3 separate regions of the Homo sapiens genome follow, and all the other regions are linked to region 2. Evidence: promoter capture Hi-C in human tissues and cell types (Jung and others, 2019). All regions are on one chromosome and are shown on one strand. The core of a region is centred on a gene start or on the middle of the fragment in contact, and the rest is flanking DNA. Distances in the headings are between cores, read along the strand shown.

Region 1 (4,673 bases), core at 192-2,691, 76 kb before region 2:
AGGCGCACATACAGGTAGGCAGATGGATGTGATGACTGAGGCTGATGGAGGTTCCCTGCCTAGGTTCTGCCTGCATCTGTTTTCTCAATGAAATATGAGGCCAGAGTTAGGTGTGGTGGCACATGCCTATAGTCCCAGCTACATGAGAGACTGAAGCAGACGGATCATCTGAGCCTGGGAGTTTTAAGCTGTAGTGCACTAGGATCACGCCTATGAACAGCCACCATGCTCCAGCCTGGGCAACCCAGTGAGACCTCATCTCCAAAAAAAAAAAAAAAAAAAAAAAATAGAAAGAAAGAAATGGGAAGCCAGGCCACTAGCTGAGAGAGTGAGCATGGAGAATGAGGTACTGCACACTCGAGAAGGTATGAAACAGATCAGCAGAGTGAGTGAACTGGGAAGCATGGTGCAACAGCCTGCCAGTATCAAGGGTCTACCCGAGTTTGTGATCATGAATTTGATGTTGTTGTTGTTGTTGTTGTTGTTTTTGAGACAGAATCTCACGCCATCACCAGGTTGGAGTGCAGTAGCGCAATCTTGGCTCATTGCAACCTCCACCTCCCGGGTTTAAGCAATTCTCATGCCTCAGCCTCTCTTGTAGTTGGAATTACAGGCAGGTAGCACCACACCCGGCTTTTTGTATTTTTTTTGTGAGACGGGCTTTCACCATGTTGGCTAGGCTGATCTCAAACTCCTGACCTCAACTGATCCACCCACCTTGGCTTCCCAAAGTGCTGGGATTACAGGCATGAGCAACCACACCCAGCCATGTAATCATGAATTCGAAATGAGACAGACATTTCAAAAGTTTTCAATTAGTTCAAATGGTTCTGAGTTTTTCTATAGCCTTATTCCAGTGTAGGTGGGGAATGGGATTTAACCAAGATCCTGGTTTAAATAAGCAAGTAAGACAAAGTGAGAGAGGTTCTCTCCAGGACAGATTCCAGCATTCCAGGTATGGCCTGACCAGGGTGAGGCAAAGAGCACTGTTGTCAGTACTGTGTCCAAGGAAAATCACATTTGGAATCCTGAACCCATCAATCCTACCAGAAGACCATCAGAGCTTCTCAGAGACATACAGAGGAAACATTATAGGCAAGGATCTTCTTTATTACTAACAGATGTTTTGGTTGAACCACATTAGGTATAAACATTTATATATATCTATAGTCTACACTGATACCTAACGAGAAGTACAGCAACAAAAACTCTGCAAATACTTTTAATTGACACGATTCTAGATCAAGAAGACAGATGATTCAGAAGGCTATCAAATTATTAGATGATATTATGATCAATGCAGTTCTCTTAGCACCCCCTTTACGCAACTAGAATCCTAATTATAAAATAGTAATTATTATTATATGACAATAATACTATATTTGATAGAAAAGTTCACAGACAAAAGAGAGATATTTTCAAATACACAGTATGAGAAATATCATTTCCCAACAAAGACAGTCCTGGATATCAAGCATCAGCTCATTTATTATAAAGAAATAAACTTTTACTTTTTAATGAGATAGTTCTAAACATCCTATCAGGTAGTTTTATCCTCTGAAAAGTTAAAGAAAAAGTTCTGTGCCAATGCAGAATGAAGACGAGGAAATCTGCAATTAGAGGTGTTCATTTTGACCATTATTTTAATCTTGCATTTTCAGATTATTTTATCTTAAAACCATCAACCAAATTCATAAAATCAGCAGAACCAAATTCAGTCTTAATCATCTTGTCATCAGAGATAATACCTAAACCTGTTTGAAAAAAAAAAAGATGGAAGTTATGGAAAGAAAAGCAATTGGTTTAACAGATTGCAATAAAAAAAAAAGCGATAACACAACACATTGCAATGATATTTAAACTACTGCTTGGAGGATTTTAAAGAGCTGATGTCTGCTTCATTTTAATCTGTTCTGGAAACATCACAACCATCAGCTTAACAAAAAGCTAAGAAGAATTACAAAAGAGTCCCAGGTATGAAGCTTGGGCTTACCTGATGCACCTATTGGGGAGGTAGCTGGGGTCATGTTGTGGACATTGAGACCAAGACTCTGAGAGGGTCCTGGGGCTGATGCCGCTATGGGAGGCCCCGGAGGGTTCTCCCTCTGGGGAGAGGTGAGTGGGGTGGTTGGCTGAGAGGTCTGTCCACCAGCAAGTCGTGCAAGGCGCCTCCGTCGAATCTACAACATGAGGGGAAAAGGGCATTCTATAACTAATCAGCAGAAACACAATTCTGCCAGAGAATGACATTATTCATAACCAAACCAGAGTTTAACAACTCAATATGCCTTCAGCAAAAGTACTCTTCTGAGAGAATAACTCGCTCTACCAGTATTCCTACAAGCTCTATCACTTGAGTTTTTAACAACTGTATTTTGGCCAGGTTCAGCGGTGCCTGCCTATAGTCTCAGCTACTTGGGAGGGTGAGGTGGGGGTAATCGCTTGAGCCTAGGAGTTCAAGACCAGCCTGAGCAAAGCAGTGACAACCCACCTCTAATTCATACATACATAAATACATACATAAATACGTATATACTGTATGTTAGTTCCCTTACCATCTCTGTTTATCACACCTCCTTGGCTGACATGGCGAATTTACGGTAAGCATATTACACTTCATTTTAGAGAGAGTCTCTCTGTCACCCAAGCTGGAGTGCAGTATTTCAATCATAGCTCACTGCAGCCTTGAACTCCTGGGCTCAAGTAATCTTCCCACCTCGGCCTCCTAAGTATCTAACACTACAGGTGCAAACCACCATGTCCAGCTAATTAATTTTTTTTAATTTTTGACAGAGACGAGGTCTCACTATGTTGCCCAGGCTGGTCTCAACCTCCTGGCCCCAAGTGATCCTCCCACCTTGGCCTCCCAGAGTACTAGGATTATGGGCATGAAGCACCATGCCCAGCCTATGCTTGTAACACACTAAAGCTTGTTGTTATTTTAATAAAATGACCTAACTTGGTCATTTCAAATAGGTAAGATTTAAAAATAAATAGCCAATTGGCCAGGTGTGGTGGCTCACGCCTGTAATCCCAGCACTCTGGGAGGCTGAGGCAGGAGGATCACGAGGTCAGGAGTTCGAGAACAGCCTGACCAACATGGTGAAATCCTGTCTCTACTAAAAATACAAAAATTAGCCAGGTGTGGTGATGCGTGCCTGTAATCCCAGCTACTGAGGCAGGAGAATCACTTGAACTCGGGAGGTGGAGGGCAATTGCAGTGAGCTGAGATGGCACCACTGCACTCTAGCCTGGGCAACAGAGGGAGACTCCACCTCCAAAATAAATTAATGAATAAATAGCCAATTTAATTCACTAAAACAATGAGAAACAAAAGTTACACTAAGACACAAATTTAACCATCACTTGTAGGAGCAAAATGATCAGATTTTCTTTTTTTACTTGATTCAATAAAAATACAATCTGCCACTTCTTCCTTTTAACATATAATTAAAGAGCAACATCTTATTGAAAGAGAAAAATTAATCCATTCATTCAAAATGTGTTTGTTGAACTCCTACTAACAGCAGGGCATCTCCAAAAGCTTCCTAACAGATTTACCCATGTCCCCTGAGCAAAAGAAGCCAGATGTAAAAAAAACAGAGTGGATGATTCCATTTCTATAAAATTTGAAAATAAGAAAAACTAAACTATACCATTAGTTTGGATAATGGTTATCCTTGGTGGGAAAGGGGCAGGAAGCAGCTCGGGAGAGGCAGGAGTGAGATTCTAGGGATCTGGTAATGGTTTTTTTTTTTTTTTTTTAATTTTAACTGGATACTAATGTCACAGCTATGTCCACTTTATGAAAACTCACTGGGTTGTATACTTACAACTATGAGTAATCAGTTCATGGGTATTCATCTTATTCTTCTTCATAGTTTATATGTTAAATATAGTCTTCTGTGTAGCATGTAATTTTTTTTTTTTTCTGAGACGGAGTTTCGCTCTTGTCACCCAGGCTGGAGTACAATGGCACCATCTCGGCTCACTGCAACCTCCCCCTCCCAGGTTCATGCGATTCTCCTGTCTCAGCCTCCCAAGTAGCTGGGACTACAGGCATGCACCACCACACCCACCTAATTTTTAATTTTTTGTAGACATGGCATCTCACCATGTTGCCCAGGCTGGTCTCAAATTCCTGGGCTCAAACAATCCTTCCACCTCGGCCCCCCAAAGTGCTGGGATTACAAGTGTGAGCCACCATGCCGGGCCAAGTTTCATTATCTTACAGACAGCTAAATTTAGGAGTTCATGCTTGATTTCTAATTCAAATTCAACCTTTATTACTGACTACTTTACTTATCTGGAGCCTATCCAGATAAGTCACTTAACAGCTCTCTGCTTCAGTTTCTGCACAATGGACATCCGTACACTGCACATCTGTACAATGGGGATGAAATCATCGGCCGAGGGGAGTCCGAGGCGGTGGATCATTTGAGGTCTGGAGTTCGAGACCAGCCTGGCCAACACGGCAAAACCCTGTCTCTACTAAAAATACAAAGATCAGCCAGGCATGGTGCCACACACCTGCAATCCCAGCTACTTGGGAGGCTGAGGCAGGAGAATCGCTTGAACCTGGGAGGCGGAGGTTGCAGTGAGCCAATATCGCACCGCTGCACTCCAGCCTGGGCGATGAAGTGAGACTCCGTCTCAAAAAAATAAGAAAAAAA
Region 2 (4,729 bases), core at 2,046-4,545:
TCATGCTGTTGCCCAGGCTAGAGTGCAGTGTCGTGATCTGGGCTCACTGCAACCTCCACCTCTCAGGTTCAAGCGATTCTCGTGCCTCAGCCTCCCAATTAGCTGGGACTACAGGCATGAGCCACCATGCCTAGCTAATTTTTGTACTTTTAGTAGAGATGGGGTATTTCACCATGTTGGCCAGGCTGGTCTCAAACTCCTGACTTCAGGTGATCCACCCACCTCGGCCTCCCAAAGTGCTGGGATTATAGGCGTGAGCCACCTGCCCAGTCTGCTAGCTTAATTATTTTTTTTCAAGATGGAGTCTTGCTTTGTCTCCCTGGCTAGAGTGCAATGGCGCAATCTCGGCTCACTGCAACCTCCACCTTCTGGGTTCAAGCAATTCTCCTGCTTCAGCCTCACAAGTAGCGGGATTACAGGTGCATGCCATCATGCCCAGCTAATTTTTTGTATTTTTAGTAGAGGTGGGGCTTCACCATGTTGGCCAGGCTGGTCTTGAACTCCTGACCTCATGATCCACCTGCCTCAGCATCCCAAAGTGCTGGGATTACAGGTGTGAGCCACTGCACCCAGACCAACTTAATTCTTAAGATAAAATGTATTATAGTATTATGGCTGGGCACAGTGGCTCACACCGAGATCGCGCCACTGCACTCCAGCCTAGGCAATAGAGCCAGACTCCATCTAAAAAAAAAAAAAAAAAAAAAAGAGTATTACAGTATTATGTAAACAACCACTCTAGTGCTATAAGTGTGACCTAAGTACTTAGCACTTTAACAAATTGATGTAAGTACTTAGTACTTTAACAAATTAGATCTGAAGTTGAAACACAGTTGCTGGTTTTCAGAAAACCGTTCTGGATTTAAGGGTTTCTGGATAGGCGACCTCAGAACATGGCACCTTATGTCCATTTTCACGCTGCTGATAAAGACATATCCAAGAGTGGGTAACTTATTATTATTATTATTTTAGACAGAGTTTCACTCTTGTTGCCCAGGCTGGAGTGCAATGGCACCATCTCAGCTCACTGCAACCTCTGCCTCCTAGGTTCAAGTGATTCTCCTGCCTCAGCCTCCCAAAGTAGCTGGGATTACAGGCGCCCGCCACCATGCCCAGCTAATTTCTTTTTGGTATTTTTAGTTGAGACGGGGTTTCACCATGTTGGCCAGGCTGGTCTTGAACTCCTGACCTCAGTTGATCCACCCGCCTCAGCCTCCCAAAGTGCTGGGATTACAGGCGTGAGCCACCGAGCCTGGCAAGAGTGGGTAACTTATAAAGAAAAAGAGGTTTAACTGCCGCAGTTCCACGTGGCTGGGGAAGCCTCAAAATCATGGCAGAAGGCAAAAGGCACGTCTTACATGGTGGCAGGCAAGAGAGAATGAGAGCCAAATGAAAGGGGAAACCCCTTGTAAAACCATCAAATCTCATGAGACATTCACTACCACCAGAACAGTGTGGGGAAAACTACCCCATGATTCAATTACCTCTCCTCAGGTCCCTCCCACAACACATGAGAATTATGGGAACTACAACTCCCATGAGATTTGGGTGGGGACACAGCCAAACCATATCACTTGGCATTTGAGGAAATAACAGTAGCAGGAAGGTCCCCCTCAGACCTTCTTTTGCCCCTCTTCCCTGAAGCAGGCCATAAAAGAATTCTCTGCTCTTCCTCTGAAGAAGATCATAAGACTCTCAAGTGAGAGGTGCTTTTCCCATACCCAGAGGAACACTCTTATCTCTTGGGATATGAAAGAGCAAAATAAATGCCCCTTTATCAACTAAGATGGGCCCTAAGGTTAAGAAAACAAAAATTGGCCGGTGCGGTGCCTCACGCCTGTAATCCCAGCACTTTGGGAGGCCAAGGTGGGCAGATCACGAGGGCAGATGTTCGAGACCAGCCTGGCCAACATGGTGAAACCCCGTTTCTACTAAAAAATACAAAAATTAGCTGGGCGTGGTGGCGGGCGCCTATAGTCCCAGCTACTCGGAGAGGCTGAGGCAGGAAAATGGCGTGAACCCGGTAGGCGGAGCTTGCAGTGAGCCGAGATCGTACTACTGCACTCCAGCCTGGGCAACAGAGCGAGACTCCGTCTCAAAAAAAAAAAAAAAAAAGAAAGAAAGAAAGAAAGAAAAAAAGAAAACAAAAATTGCCCACGGGTCAAGGGTTCAGGGATTGGCCGGCACGGCAACTTCCCAGATTCCTAAAGCTACAAGAAAAACTACACTCGTGGCAGGGCGCGTGGCTCACACCTGTAATCCCAGCACTTTGGGAGGCCAAGGCGGGTGGATCACCTGAGGTCAGGAGTTGGACACCAGCCTGACCAATATAGTGAAACCCCTTCTCTACTAAAAGTACAAAATTAGCCGGACGTGGTGGCTGGCGCACGCGTGTAATCCCAGCTACTTGGAAGGCTGTGGCAGGAGAATCGCTTGAACCGAGGAGGCGGAGGTTGCAGTGAGTTGAGAGTCCGCGCACCGTTGGCACCGCGATGAGGGCGGGAAGCACAGCGCGGGGCCCCCGGGAGCAAGAACGCCGCGGGCACCCAGCCCTCGTGGGAGGCGGCGGTCGGGGCACGCCCCGGGCCGAACCAGGCTCTGCACTCCCGCGGGTGCCCGGACCTGAAGGGTCGTCCGCTGGCTCCAGGATTCTGCATCCCCGACCCGCTCCGGGTGCGCCGAGGCTGCTGGGACTTCGCTGCGGGAGCGCGCCCGGGGCCCCGGGGCCTGCACGGAAGGCGGCTGCGGGGAGGGTGGCCGGGCAGAGGCTTCGGTCCCGGGCGCCCCCTCCCCGGCCGGACCCCCCTCCCCGGCCGGACCCCGAGTCTGCAGTCTCCGCAGGTGTGCCGCGTGCGGGTAGAGACGGACGTGGGGCTGGACGCGGGCACTCAGGGACGGACGGGTGGGGGACCGACGGCCGGGGGAACAGAGGGCGTGGAGAGACGGCCGTGGGGACAGGGGGGCGGGTGGGCGCGGGAAAGGACGGACTGGGGGACTGAAGGACTGGGGTCCCGCGCCCGATGGACGGAGGCGCCAAGGACCAGCGGACTCGGGGGCGACTGGGCGACGGTGGGCGCAGCAGGGCGGAGGCACGGACAGAGGACGTACCTACAGGCCCGGCCCGGCCGCCTTCGCCTGATCCCGAGACCCACGGCGAGCCTCGCGCCGCCGCCGCCTCCCCTCCGCCTTACCTAGGGCCAGCATGTAGCCCTCGAAGTTGTCGCTGCTGAGCAGGGTCCAAGTACCGCTGAGGTCGGCGGGCATGGTCGGGGATCGCGGGACAAACCCGGCGGGCGGCCGGAGGCTCGGGCCGGGACCTATAAACCAGGCGGGGCGGGGCAGGGGGGTGGGGCCGCGCGCGGGAGGAGCAGGTGGGGCCGCGTGGGTCCCACTCACCCCTAGAAGCCGCTGCGCTCCCGGCCGCCTCAGCCCGGTGCTCCTGGCTCTGCCCACCGCGCGGCAGCTTCCCCCTTTCCTTGGGGCTTCCTCTCCTACTGCTTTCTCATGTCCCAGACTGTTTCGGGCCACATTTTCTTCCCTGCTTATATGTTAATGACCCAGGGATGATCTTCAAACTCATGGCATTGAATATTGTCAGCTTCAATAACAATATACCTCTCAACGTAACTCTCATGGTCTCAATAAATAGGAGTTTATTTTTCTTAACAAGGAGTCCTGAGAGAAGTGATTGCTGGTGATGATTCGCACCTAGGAATCACAGTGATTCGCACCTCGGTAACGCCGCAGCTTCGTCTCTGTGACTCTGGTGGCCTTTTATTCCTGCTTGTTACCTCCTGGTCATGAGCTGGCAGCTGGGTTCCCAGCCAGGACATCCACATTCAAGGTAGGGAAGAGGGAAAGCACCAAAGGTCAGTATCCCTGCAGCACAAACCTCCCCATCTCCTATAAGTCTGGATAGTTGGAAAAAAGAAAAGAAATTACCCAGCAGGTTTCTGTGTACATTTCATTAGCCAAAACTGTATCAATGCCACTTCTAACTGCAAGGGGGCCTGGGGATTCTAGTCTGCAGCATTTAGCCTCAGAGCAGAGAAAAGCAAAGGAGAAGGGGTGGGAATATGGGCTAACCTACAACATTAGCCACAAACACCGCCTAGATATGCTGGCTCCAAGACTGACTTATTGATTTTATTTTTATTTTTTTTCTTTTGAGACAGAGTCTCACTCTTTCTTTTTTCTTTTTTTTTTTTTTTTTGAGACGGAGTCTCGCTCTGTGCCCAGGCTGGAGTGCAGTGGAGAGATCTCGGCTCACTGCAAGCTCCGCCTCCGGGGTTCACGCCATTCTCCTGCCTCAGCCTCCCGAGTAGCTGGGACTACAGGCGCCCGCCAACACGCCCGGCTAACTTTTTATATTTTTATTAGAGACGGGGTTTCACCGTGTTAGCCAGGATGGTCTCGATCTCATGACCTTGTGATCCGCCCGCCTTGGCCTCCCAAAGTGCTGGGATTACAGGCCTGAGCCACTGCGCCCGGCAGAGAGGGAGTCTCACTCTATCGCCCCGGGCTGGAGGGCAGTGGTTCCATCTCGGCTCACTGCAACCTCCGCCTCCCAGGTTCAAGTGATTCTCCTGCCTCAGCCTCCCGAGTAGCTGGGATCACAGGTGCCCATCACCATGCCCAACTAATTTTTTGTATTTTTAGTGGAGATGGGGGTTTCATCATGTTGGCTAGGCTGGTCTTGAGCTCCTGACCTCGTGATTCGCCTGCCTCA
Region 3 (4,641 bases), core at 672-3,171, 110 kb before region 2:
TTTTATATCAACTAAGAACCTATAAGCTGCCAAAATCTGGATGATCACAGTTCACTGTAACGGCCAACAAGGGACATATCAACTGACTGGGATGGCATTTTGTAATTAAGGAGTGAAATGCTGGCACTTCCCTGCCAAAGGAACCGAGTAGATGCACAGACTCTCGGCAGCAAAAACAGTAGTAAGGAACAAGAACAAACAAGACCTATTTGGGCAGAAATGGAAAAGTGGGTGGCAGCACGGTGCGGTGGTGAACATGAGTCTGGATTCAGGATGCTCAAGTCTGAATGCATTTCTATGATTTTGACCCTCTTGTCTGTCCCCCCGGCCCCCCCGTTCCCCCTGCCACTTCCTCACAGCAGGCTACAGCGAGGAGTAAAGGGGCTGATACATGGACAGAGCTGACACCACATCTGGCGCACAATGCTCCATGAGTATTTGCAGCTATTTTTATACACTTGGTACATTTTATTCCTCCTAGTAGGGAGAGAATTTAGATCTGAGGCAAGGCTGGGGTGTTAGAAGTCCAGAAAGAGAGGTATTAGTAAAAGCAGCACACAATCTGATACGGTTGTTAGAGAAAGTCACAACTAAATAGGCCAGGGAGAGAGAATTTCTCCCACAGAAAATTTACAGTAAAACAGGTAACACAGCACTTTTACCATGTGGAAACTGGTTCCTAGGAAGGATGCCTGCTTTATTACTATAATCATGCAATAGGATTTTATCTACGTGAAAAAGACACTTTCACCTTTGGGAAATTTACTTGAGAAATGGTGATAAAATGTTCAGCGTAATACAAATATCAACCTTCCTGAATCAATATTCAACCTTGCATCAACATTCCTCTGTCTCTTTACGTATTCTCTAATGATTCTTCTGAACACCATCGAATTGAATGAAGTGTACCTAACTCCTACTGCAGTCTCTATTTATAGCCTGGAGTTATTTTTGAACAGTGCTGGGCACAAACACCAACTCAGTCCACAGGAAACTTCAATTTAAGAGCAAAATTGTAAGACAATGAGTCAGAGGATTAGAAAGAAGGTGCTATTATATTCTCTTGCTCAAAGTCACCTACACAACCCAAGTAGTGCTTTTCACTCGGTTTCCAGGGGTAAACATTCAGCAACATCCGGAACTATGTTTCAGCCTCTGCGGTCATTTCAAAGGCTCTTTAAACAAATGGGGTCTGGCTTCACTGAGGTCCAGGAGGTGCTAAGAGAAATTTAAGGCTAGACATGAAAGCAAAGTCACAGTTATGCAGATGGTATGACCTCATATGTTCTTCGATGGATTGCCCAGACTGAGCTCAATGGGGGTGAACAGGGGGGCGGTGGAGGCTGGGAGGGGGTGGGAAGGGAGCACGCACGCACACACACACACACACACACCTCCCCCAAATCCCAGCCCCTCTCCCGTTACTAAATAGCAGCAATTCATGCAACTGTACTTAAGAAAACATGCCTCAGAGAGTACAAGTTGTCACATCTGGTAGTTCACAATAACATTCTCGCAATAGATAAATGAAGGGTCCCTCATTTTAGATCTAAAGGTGGATAAACTTGATGACTGATCTTTAATCTGTTTTCATGCTTTTGAAAAATGATTATACATAAAGTTTTCCTCCAAACTTGCCAGGCGACAACTCTGAAAATTCTGGGGCCAGACACAGTGACTCACTCCTGTAATCCCAACATTTTGGGAGGCCAAGACGGGCAGATCACTTGAGGTCAGGAGTTCGAGACCAGCCTGGCCAACCTGGCAAAACCCTGTCTCTACTAAAAATACAAAAATTAGCCGGGCATGGTGGCGGGTGCCTGTAATCCCAGCTACTTGGGAGTCTGAGGCAGGAGAATCACTTGAACCCAGGAGGAGGAAGTTGCCGTGAGCCGAGATTGCGCCATTGCACTCCGGCCTGGGCAACAAGAGCAGAACTCTGCCTCAAAAAAAAAAAAAAAAAAGAAAGAAAGAAAGAAAAAAAGAAAATTCTCCTATGTGCTACTTTATCCCATGAGAAGGTCTGAACACATCAATATACTCTGGAGCCCACCTCATTTGACCCTATCCTGCCTGGATTCAAAGCACGCCCCTTGTTAGAGCTTATAGAAGTTAGTTCCTAAGCATCTACGCACATGCAGGGGTAAGACTCCATTCCTCTGATACCTGGACCCAAACTGGACACAAGAAAAATCATCACCACCACCACCACCTTCATCATCACCATCACCATCATCATCATCTTCTTCTTCATCTTCTTCATCACTACTGTCCCCAGAAAGTGCGAGGAAGAGGAAGGAGAAAGGATTGTCGTACATACTACCACAACAAAAGCAAAAAAGGCCATCAGAGAACAAAGAAAAAACAAGACGGGGAGAAGCTTTTGCAACTGCTGTCCTTTTAAATAAACCATACACTAAAACTTTTGGCCACTGACATGCAGAAACATAATTCACCTAAATTATAGAAACACATACAGGTACATTTGAGAGAAGGGGCCACTGGATTAGTGGAATTCTGATACTGCTTCCTTCTAAGAGACTGAACTTACATATAACTAAAACTCAACACGTCAGGACATGAACCGACCCACCCCACTCACCAGAAGTAAAAAACACCAGGCCCAGATTTGCTCCCACACCTGCTTGGTCTGATAGCATTTCAACTACCACTGGCAACAGGACAAAAGGCCAAAAAGGGTTCCTGTGTGCCCCAACTCTCAAAGGGAAGAAAGGGATTCACAATAGAATAGAGCAACCCAAACTTTCCAGCATGATTAGAGCCTGGCAGAAGCATGGACTCAGAGTACGTGCCTACCAAACTAGTTAGCCACACAGGTTAATAACCCAAAACAACAATTTAACAGAGTCAGTGTCACACAGCACTTCTTCCAAACCGTGTTAATCTCCTTTCCCTGCACCGCAAACACACATGCAACTCTCCTGTGGGATAAATACCTAGGAGAGATCCTCAGGGAGGAGGGGCGTCTGCTCGTGGCACTGGGTGAGGCGGGTGGTAGGGGTGGACCCGTGCTGCTGGGCCTCTGTCTGGAACTGCTGGCGGGCACTGCTTGGGGGCTACTGGCGAGGGCAGGGGGACTTGGGGAGCTCGACAGAATGGAGACGCCTGAGGACGCCCATGGGTGAGTGACAGTGTAGGGGCGATACCGCGGGGATGAAGGCTGGCTTCCCGCAGCAGTTCCAGAGGCTGCACTGTGAGGACTGAGGGGAGTGGAAGGCACAGCCAACTGGCTGGCTGCACGGGAAGGTGAGGCAAGAGACGGGCCCATCACGGGAACAGAGCTCCAGAAACTGGGAGTGGGAGCCGGACTACTTTCATAGAGGCTAAATTAGTTGAGAAAGGGAGGAAAGAAGAGAAAAATCAAAGAAAAACTTGAGATAACTAACTAAAACAGAAAATATCAAGCTTTTAAAGGAGAATCATTTCAGTTCAAGTATATCTAGCAGATAAACATCTAAATAATTATAATCTAATTGCCCTATTGATCTAGAGGCTATACTTACAAGACGATAAAGTCCCCATTCGAAGAATGATGTAGTATACACAGCCAACTGCTTCTAAAATTTCATCTAGCAATATCTTAACCATAGAGAGCCAAAAAATAATAATCTAGAAAAGAGAATTCCACTTCCAATGACTAAATCCACCTCCCCAAATATGATATATGCCATACCCTGTATGACACTGATTAACACTGTCAACAAACATTCCCTTCTCCTACGTAGTTCACAGTTATTTTACTACCAGTAAGATGTGCAAAGAGAACCACACTGACCTAGACAAAGAGCTGGCACCAAAGGAAGCCACGCTGCAGAACATGGGGCTTGTTCCTGGATTGGAGCCAGTGTTTAGCAAGAGATTTCTGTCTGGTGACCGTGCTGCTGCAGCAATTGGCTGTGATGTGGCTGTCAGACTGGCAAATGGGTTTTCATCTCTGGTCTGAGTGGACATCATTAGCACTTCCATTAAAATCTGGCCAATCAAGTCCTTAAAATCGGAGAATACTGTTGGAAAGGCAGAACAAAGAACAGGTTACACACAGTTCGAACACAGGTTACACAGCCCTTGAATAAGCCAGCTGACCCCAAATGGTTCGATGCAGTATCCTGGATTAGATTCTGGAATGGTAAAAGGATATTAGTGGAAAACCTAAATAAAGCCTTGTGTTTAGTTAGTAGTAATTTCTTAGTTTTGACAAATGTACCATGGTTATATAAGATATTAACGTCAGGGGAAACTGGGTAAAGTATATATAGGAACTCCCTGCACTAACTGAAACTATTCCAAAATTAAAAGTTTATTAAAAAGAAAGTTGGGGTACAGTCATTGAGAGTTACCGCTGATGTATATTAATTGTAAAAAGAAGCTACTCCCAACTATAGAGGTTACTTTATTATACTACAAATGCAACTGGGTTAATATTTCTTAGTCTAGATATGTTTTATAGATAGTAATAAAACTATTAAGTCCAAGGTTCAAAAGATTTTATGAAGGGTCCAACATCTAGTCACCATGTGGCTTTCAGGAGCAAATGCTACATTCTAGCTTCCTTCTTATTCTTTGCAGCTCCCAGTTGATTTACTGTTGGTCTTTAGATACATTTTAAATACCACTAAACAA

The links. Contacts are between HindIII fragments. The study calls those that stand out against the background at their distance.
Region 1: a fragment that was not itself captured here is called in contact with the fragment with the promoter of RBP7 in region 2 in 2 of the 25 tissues and cell types used here (H1 embryonic stem cells and aorta).
Region 3: a fragment that was not itself captured here is called in contact with the fragment with the promoter of RBP7 in region 2 in 2 of the 25 tissues and cell types used here (IMR-90 fibroblasts and pancreas).

Annotation. Positions count from the first base shown.
Region 1 is chr1:10,069,535-10,074,207 of GRCh38, reverse strand. UBE4B (ubiquitination factor E4B) reads right to left here. Exons shown (of 28, transcript NM_001105562.3): 2 at 1,994-2,180. Among named protein-coding and RNA genes, the nearest start is that of UBE4B, 39 kb to the right of the region's middle. The HindIII fragment of the contact is 3,592 bases long and covers 1-3,237 here.
Region 2 is chr1:9,995,794-10,000,522 of GRCh38, reverse strand. RBP7 (retinol binding protein 7) reads right to left here and starts at 3,295. Exons shown (of 4, transcript NM_052960.3): 1 at 3,192-3,295. The coding sequence starts at 3,264. It overlaps LOC124903840 (basic salivary proline-rich protein 2-like), which reads left to right and starts at 2,434. Exons shown (of 2, transcript XM_047436754.1): 1 at 2,434-2,841; 2 at 3,671-3,804. The coding sequence starts at 2,493. The coding sequence ends at 3,804. It also overlaps a transcript of NMNAT1 not described here. RefSeq lists a silencer at 1,346-1,546. The HindIII fragment of the contact is 9,171 bases long and covers 1-4,729 here.
Region 3 is chr1:10,104,900-10,109,540 of GRCh38, reverse strand. UBE4B (ubiquitination factor E4B) reads right to left here. Exons shown (of 28, transcript NM_001105562.3): 6 at 3,797-4,025; 7 at 2,958-3,344. Among named protein-coding and RNA genes, the nearest start is that of UBE4B, 74 kb to the right of the region's middle. RefSeq lists an enhancer at 317-817. The HindIII fragment of the contact is 4,865 bases long and covers 1-4,353 here.